Regions from separate parts of the Homo sapiens genome. Here region 2 is linked to region 1. The links are contacts of gene promoters, found by promoter capture Hi-C in human tissues and cell types (Jung and others, 2019). All regions are on one chromosome and are shown on one strand. The core of a region is centred on a gene start or on the middle of the fragment in contact, and the rest is flanking DNA. Distances in the headings are between cores, read along the strand shown. Region 1 holds the start of COA4 (cytochrome c oxidase assembly factor 4 homolog). Region 2 has its middle 20 kb from the start of FAM168A.

Region 1 (4,169 bases), core at 1,308-3,807:
ATACAAAATTAGCAAGGTGTGGTGGCATATGCCTGTAATGCCAGCTACTCAGGAGGCTGAAGCAGGAGAGCCGAGGTTGAACTCGGGAGGCGGAGGTTGCGGAGAGCCGAGATCACACCATTGCACTCCAGCCTGGGCAATAAGAGCAAAACTCCATCTCAAAAAAAAAGAAAAAAGAAAAAAAATGTAAAAATTAGCTGGGCATAGTGGCACACACTTGTAGTCCCAGGTACTCAAGAGGCTGAAGAGGGAGAATCCTTTGAGCCCAGGAGTTCAAAGGCTGCAGTGAGCTATGATGGTGCCACTGTACTCCAGCTTAGGTGACATAGTGAGACCCTGTTTCAAATAAATAACCTTTCTTCTTTTATCCTACTAGCCTTATTCTATGCTGAAGAACAAAGTTTAAAAAGTGAAAGAGGCTGGGTGCAGTGGCTCACACATGTAATCCCAGCAATTTGGGAGCCCGAGGCAGATGGATCATAAGGTCAGAAGTTCAAGACCAGCCTGGCCGGGATGATGAAACCCCGTCTCTACTAAAAATACAAAAATTAGGCGGGCGTGATGGCAGGCACCTGTAATCCCAGCTACTCGGGAGGCTCAGGCAGGAGAATCGCTTTAACCCAAGGGGCGGAGGTTGTAGTGAGCCAAAGATCGTGCCACTGCACTCCAGCCTGGGTGACAGAGTGAGACTCCATCTCCAAAACAAACAAACAAACAAAGTGAAAGAGTGCCCAAATATGGGTAGGTTTTGACACATGGGAAGGATGGAAAGAGTTCACTGTGGCTGTAGCATACAGTATGCAGAAACCTGGCCTCTGGGTCTATAAGGTGAGATGGCTTTGTAAACTATACAAAAATGTGAGGTGTATTTATTTGCCCAAACTGTCTTGCCCGTCTGCATCAGAACACTCAGCAGAAAGCAGCATACAGAAGGAACTTAAGGTTTGAAGAGAAATGACTTCAGCCTTTGCAAAAATTTCACCATGATGGGCTGTAAAGCAACTAGGACTCCTTATTGCCTTAACTGTGTCTCTCATTCACTCAACAAATGATTAAGTACCTATCATGTACCAGGCACTATGCTAGTGCTGAGGATTCAAGACTGTCTAAGTCAGTTAAGTTCCTGGCTTCATGGAGTTTACAACCTAGACAAGGAAACAGGGCAGTTTACTACACAGTGTACAGATAGCAAAGACTGGGACCACAGTGGAGGGATGCCTAATCCAGACAAGGGCAGGAATAGGCAGGGAAGGCTTCCTAGAGGAAGTGATTTCCAAGCTGAAACTTGACAGATGGAACAGAAGTTAGCCAGAGATGGGAAAACTATTTTTGGTCAATGGAAGAGCAGGTGGTTGAGATAGAATCTGACACATGAGAGCAAAAAAAAAAAAAAGTTCAGTGATGGGAGAATACAGTGTGAGAATAAGACAATATTAAACTGGCGATATAAGTAAGTGATCATCACAAGGCTTTGTAGGACATAGTAGGGAGTTTAAGACTTTTTATTCTGAGGGCAATGGGGAATCACAAGAGGGAGTTAGGCACTTTACACAACTCATTTGCCTTGGAGGCGGTATAACTTAAGCAAGAGGGAGAAAATGGGCTTTGAAACAGACTTGGACCTAGCTTTGTCACTGCCTCATTTGGTGCCCTTGGACACATCATTTAATAACCTCTCTGGAAGCACAGAGATGAAGCCGGGTGCCATGGCTCACGCCTGTAATCCCAACACTGGGAGGCTGAGGCGGGAGGATGGTTTGCGCCCAGCCTGGGCAACACTGTGAGCCGTGATCACGCCACTGCATTCCAGCCTGGGTTACAGCGGGAGACCCTGTCTCAAAAAAAAAAAAAAAGAAAAAAAAAAAGGTAAGGTTTGTAAGGAGGCTGGTATGTCTAAAGAGTTCAATAAATGATAGTTTTCTCTTCCTAAATACACTGTTAACTCTTTAAATAGGGCCAGGAGCAAATAATTTAGAGAAAGAACAGTGGAATAGAAAGTGCCTTGATCCTAAACCAAGAGATCCGTGTTCAAATCCCAGCACTACGCCTTACTATGTAATCTTTTTCATTTTAGTTTTCCCATTAATAATATTTAATTCGCACAATTAGAATGAAGATTAATATAACGAATGAAAAGCGCTTGGGCTACTATAGGACTCAGTAAATGCTGCTGTACTCTCCTCTCACCACCTTTTGGCTTCAGTCTCCTCTGGAGTAAAATGACGACGACCCCTGCTCAGAGATCAGGGTAGGCTAGATGGTTGGCAGCTGGATCGTGGAGGCTGGCCTAAACAAGGAAGTCATGGAAAGGATCTTAAAGCAGAAAAATGCTGGCAGCCACGAGGCCTGAGGCGCCTCAGGCGTATCGAGGACTTTGAACTTTGAGGACGCATGCGCGCGCGCGGCCGCTGATCGCAGCCCCGTTGTGCCCGCAACGCCTCCTGAAGAACGCGGTACGCGATGCTCACCGAACAGGTGGGAGAAGAGGGCCCGAACGCACGCTCCTACGCGGCGGCTTGGGTTTCGCAGGCGGTTGGGGATCCTCTGTACATCCTTTCAGGAACCAGCCCCTCGTGGGGAGCGTGCACACGGAAGGGGCGGGGAATGTGAAAAAGTCACGTTTTCATTGGTGGCCTCTTGGTGTTGAGCCCACCTCTGTCCTCGCCGCACGCTTCTCGGGGACTCACTTCCGGGAAGGGGCGGAAGAGGTGGGCTGGTGGAGGCGGGGTCGAGATGGCGGCGCCTTTGAGGATTCAGAGCGACTGGGCGCAAGCCCTCAGGTGAATCCAGGCCCAGAACAGAGTCAGAGGAGGCGGGTAGTGGATGTTGCTTTGCGTCAAGGAGAGCCATGCCTGGTCCAGGATATCAATAGGGGTTACTTCGTCAATTGTCGAGGGATATGGAGGGAACAGGGTCCGGAAAAAGAAGTATCAAACCCGTATGGTCATTCTCTGAAAAGCTATCCCTAGGCCAAGGGAGCACATGAGCTGTGTGATCCCCGCGTCAGAACTAGTATCAGTGAGTTGGAGAAAGACAGGGATACTGGGAGGCAGGAAGGCTTTTGGCCAAGCAGTCATTTAGCAAATATTGATTAGTCGTCAGTTACTTCCAGAAGTCTCTGTACTCACCACCACTTTGTGTATGTGATGGAACCTTTGTATTCTCCTAGGCCCCTAATGCTATATTAGGCATACTGGACGATACTATTAAGGAAACTAATACTGTGTCCAGGCCCCATACTGGATGCTTGGTGGAGCTCAGATGTATACTCTAAATATAAGTGATGGTTCCTGCTCTTCAAGAAGCTGACATCCAGGCCAGGCGCAGTGGCTCATGCCTGTAATCCCAGCACTTTGGAAAACTGAGATTGGTGGATCAGTTGAGGTCAGAAGTTCGAGACCAGCCTGACCAACATGGTGAAACTCCGTCTCTACTAAAAATACAGAAATTAGTCGGGCTTGGTGGTGGGCGCCTATAATCCCAGCTACTCGGGAGGCTGAGGCAGGAGAATCGGTTGAACCCAGGAGGTGGAGGTTGCAGTGAGCCGAGATTGCACCACTGCACTCCAGCCTGGGTGACAGAGCGATACTCATCTCAAAAAAGAAGAAAAGCTGACGTCTTAATTAGGAATACACAGCAAACTATTCATTCATCTAACATTTATTGATCTTATACTATTCCAGTTATTTCTCTAGGCTTCAGGATGAATATAGCAGTGCTATATTTGGCAACTGCTACTACTAATAAGGGTTTTTCAAATTGAAACAATGGTGAAGATGAATGAAACATAGCCTTCTGCATTTAAGAAATTTACACCTTACTAAATTTATACCTTACTTAATTTAGGTGGGCTAAAATACAGACTAGTTGCTAGTACACAGAATGTGATAAGTAATAAAGAACAATAACATGAAGTGCCACTAGCTACCTATGAGAAAATACAGCACCAGAATCAGAAGGCTTAATTTGCCCAAGATCATGCATCTCGTCAAATGATAGAGGGTTGCTGTCAACCTAGATCTTTCTGTCTTAAATGCATAGACCCTTTCCATTATACCCTAAAAGTGCTAGGGTGAAGAGATCAGGATTTGGATGATTGGGCAGGTGCTAAAATAATAAAAGGAATCTTGTTTGGTTATTGTGAGGGTTAATGATTGTGTATGGAAAGT
Region 2 (4,121 bases), core at 1,249-3,748, 260 kb before region 1:
TAGAGAGACCTCATCTCTACTAAAAATCGAAATAAATAAATAGGTGGTGAATTTTTTTTTTTTTTTTGAGATGGAGTCTCACTCTGTTGCCAGGCTGGAGTGCAGTGGCGCAATCTTGGCTTACTGCAACCTCTGCCTTCCAAGTTCGAGCGATTCTCCTGCCTCAGCCTCCCGAGTAGCTGGGACTACAGGTACGTGCCACTATGCCCAGCTAATTTTTGTATTTTTAGTACAGACGGGGTTTCACCATGTTGGCCAGGATGGTCTCATTCTCTTGACCTCGTGATCCACCCGCCTTGGCCTCCCAAAGTGCTGGGATTACAGGCATGAGCCACTGCACCCAGCCAGTGGTAACTTTAATCAAATGATTTTTCTGCATCTCTTGAGATGATTCTATGATTATTTTAAAATTTATTCTGTTAATTTGGTAGACTATGTTGATTGGTTTTCAAATGTTAAACCAACCTTGTATTCCTTGAATAAACACAACTTGGTTGTGTAGTATTATCCTATTTATAGACCTTTGGATTTGGTTTGCTGATATTTTGTTTAGAATTTTGCATCTTTGTTTGGCCTGTTATTTTTCTTCCTTATAATGTTCTTGTCAGGTTTTCGTATCAAGGTAATGCTGAACAGATAAAATGAGTTAAGAAGTATTCCCAGTTTTTCTGTTTGCTGGAAGACTTTGTATAAAGTTATTATTATTTCTTCCTTAAATGTTAGAAAGAACTCACCATTAAAACATCTGGACCTGGAGTTTTCTTTGTGGGGAGATTTTTATAAGTAACAGAATCAATTTCTTAAAACAGGACAATTAAGTAGGCTGTTGTTCTAGAATATGGTTGTTTTCTAGAATATAGTTGTTTATAATATCCTCTCACTATAGTTCAATAAATGTAGGCTCTGTAGTGATGGCCTTATTTCCATTCCGAAGGGATAGTTTTTTGTGTCTCCTTTTTCCTTCATCACTCTTGCCAGGAGTTTATCAATTTTGTTTTATTTTTTATTTTTATTTATTTCTTGAGACAGAGTCTCCCTCTGTTGTCCAGGAGTGCAGAGGCGCAATCTCGGCTCACTGCAACCTCTGCCTCCCAGGTTCAAGAGAGTCTCCTGCCTCAGCCACCTCAGCGTGCCACCACGCCTGGCTAATTTTTGTATTTTTAGTAGAGACAGGGTTTCACCATGTTGGCCAGGCTGATCTCGAACTCCTGACCTCTGGTGATCCACCCACCTTGGCCTCCCAAAGTGCTGGGATTACAGACGTGAGCCACCACACCCAGCCAAGTTTACCAATTTTAGTAGTCTTATCAGCTAATTACCTTTTGGTTCTGTTGATCCTCTCTTTCATATCTTGGTTTTCTGTTACTAAATTCCTCTGTCATTTTTTACTACTTTCATCCTTCTACTTTATTTGGACTTAATTTCTGTATGCTTTTCCTAACTACTTGAGGTAGACAGTTCGATAGTAGATTTTTCAGCCATTTTTTATTTCTAATATATGCATTTAAAGCCATAAATTTTACTCTAAGCATGGCTTTAGCTGCTTCTCACAAGTTTTGACTTATTGTATTTTCATTATTATTTGATTCAACTGGTTTTAAATGTTCACTGGGGTTTGTTTTTTGACCCATGGGTTATTTAGTAGTATACTGCTCAATTTCCAAACATTTTGGGATATTCTAGCTTTCTTTTTCTTTTTCTTTTTTTTTTTCCGAGACAGAGTCTTGCTCTGTCACCCAGGCTGGAGTGCCATGGCACGATCTCAGCTCACTGCAACCCCTACCTCCCGGGTTCAAGCGATTCTCCTGCCTCAGCCTCCCGAGTAGCTGGGACTACAGGCGCCCACCACCACACCCGGCTAATTTTTGTATTTTTAGTAGAGACGGGGTTTCATCATGTTGGCAGGCTGGTTTCAAACTCCTGACCTTGTGATCTGCCCACCTTGGACTCCCAAAGTGCTGGGATTACAAGCGTGAGCCACCACACCCAGCCGATATTCTAGTTTTCTTTTTGTTTTTTATTGCTAGCATAATCCATCTGTGGTCATTGAGTATATGCTATATTATATATTTCAGTTCTTTGAAATTTAGTGCTATTTACATTGTGGCCTAGCATATCAATAAGTATTCCAAGTGCACTTGAGTATATGTTCTATAGTTGTTGGTTTCAATGTTCCATATATGTCAATAATAAGGTCAAGTATGTTAAATGTGTTATTCAAATATTCTTTGCCCTTATTGTTTTTTTAATTTGCATATTCTATCAGTTACAGAGAGAGGTGTGTTAAAATCTCTCACATGTTATCATGGATACGTCTGTTTCTTCTTGAGAAATAGGTCCTGCCCTAGAACCTTGCACAGATGAGTGTGAGGGACTGACACATAATGAGACAATAACTGTGAGAATGTTTAGACATTCTGGCAGAGAAAAATCCAGTAAACACTCAAAGTTTTGTTCCTACTGAACTCCTGGAAGTTCCCTGAATGCAGATTTTGTTTTTCCCTATAAGACTATGGTGGTTGCTGGGTGCAGTTGCTCAGGCCTCTAATCCCAGTACTTTGGGAGGCCAAGGTGGGCAGATCACTTGAGGTCAGGAGTTTGGGACCAGCCTGGCCAATAAGGTGAAACCCCGTCTCTACTAAAAACACAAAAATTAGCTGGGCATGGTGGCACACACCTGTAGTCCCAGCTACTTAAGAGGCTGAGGCAGGAGAATTGCTTGAACCCAGGAGGCGGAAGTTACAGTGAGCCGAGATTGCGCCACTGCACTCCAGCCTGGGCGACAGAGTGACACTCCATCTCAGAAAAAAAAAATGACTATGGTGGTTAATTTTATGTGTCAACTTGACTGAAATAGAGGATGCCCAGACATTTGGCTAACCATTGTCTTGATGTAGCTGTGAGGGTTTCTGGAAGAGATTAACATTTGAATCCGAAAACTAAATAAAGCCCTAATGTCGGTGGGCCTCATACAATCAGTTGAAGACCTGAACAGAACGAAAAGGCTAAGTAAGAGGAAACTCCTCCTGCTTGACTACTTGAGCTGGATGGGTATCAGGTCTTTTCCTACCTTTGGAGACAGGCTGAAACTTCAGCTTTTCTTGAGTCTCAAACCTGCTGGCTTTCAGGCCACATTGGTGCTCCAGGTACTCCTGGGTCTTCATGTTCTGACTGCGGATTTTGGGACTTCTAAGCCTCCATAAGAGCATGAGCCAGTTCCCGTGTGTGTGTGTGTGTGTGTGTGTGTGTGTGTGTGTGTGTGTGTGTGGTGGGAGTGGTTATCAAAATGGACAGCAGAGTCAAAGCAGCAATGAGAATAGTCTGATGTGCACAGATCTATGGCGTTGGCTAGCTGAGCATGGTGTTCCTAGAAGTGAAATAGATAGGAAGCCTACTAAATTCTTACTTGATCTGTAGAAAGCAGAAAAGTACTAGGTTAAGTGGACAAAAGTCTAACTCAAATCATAAAAACAGAGAGCTGCAGAAGCTCAATCAATTCCCAGGCTTAAGCCAGTTTATAAGCCCAGAACCCCTTAAATGGAGGGGAGACCAGGTTCCCTTCAGGAACCTGAAGCCTGATATACAGCCCCAAATTTATACTGTCAATCTTTTATTTTCTTTTTCCCAATACACAGTGACCGTGGTGAAAGGTGAAAGTGACCCTTTCACCAGGGTCACTGTGTGTTGGGAAAAAGAAAATAATCAGACCTTTTGGGGACTCCTGGACACTGACTGAACTGGCACTAATTCCAGGTGGCCTAAAATGTCATGGTGGTCCATCAGTCAAAATAGGGGCTTATGGATGTCAGGTGGAATTTTAGCTCAGGTCCGTCTCACAGTGGGCCCAGTGGGTCCCCAAACCCATCCTCTGATTATGTCCCCAGTTCTGTGCATAATTGGAGTAGACTCACTCTGCAGCTGGCAGAATCCCTACATTGGTTCCCTAACCTATAAAGTGAGGATTATTGTGATGGGAAAGGCCAAATGGAAGCCACTAGAACTGCTTCTACTTAGGAAGCTAGTAAAACAAAAGCAATACCACATTCCTGGAGGGACTGCAGAGATCAATATCTCAATCAAGAACTTGAAAGATTAAGGCATAGTGATCTTCAGGGGTGGAG

Evidence for each region. The method cuts DNA at HindIII sites, captures the fragments that hold promoters and counts their contacts. A contact is called where the count stands out against the background at its distance.
Region 2: a fragment that was not itself captured here is called in contact with the fragment with the promoter of COA4 in region 1 in 1 of the 25 tissues and cell types used here (mesendoderm cells).

What each region holds. Positions count from the first base shown.
Region 1 is chr11:73,874,289-73,878,457 of GRCh38, forward strand. COA4 (cytochrome c oxidase assembly factor 4 homolog) reads right to left here and starts at 2,558. Exons shown (of 2, transcript NM_016565.3): 1 at 2,469-2,558. PAAF1 (proteasomal ATPase associated factor 1) reads left to right here and starts at 2,711. Exons shown (of 12, transcript NM_025155.3): 1 at 2,711-2,780. The coding sequence starts at 2,734. RefSeq lists enhancers at 2,809-2,858, 2,879-2,948. The HindIII fragment of the contact is 11,350 bases long and covers 1-4,169 here.
Region 2 is chr11:73,615,662-73,619,782 of GRCh38, forward strand. No RefSeq gene overlaps it. Among named protein-coding and RNA genes, the nearest start is that of FAM168A, 20 kb to the left of the region's middle. The HindIII fragment of the contact is 9,742 bases long and covers 1-4,121 here.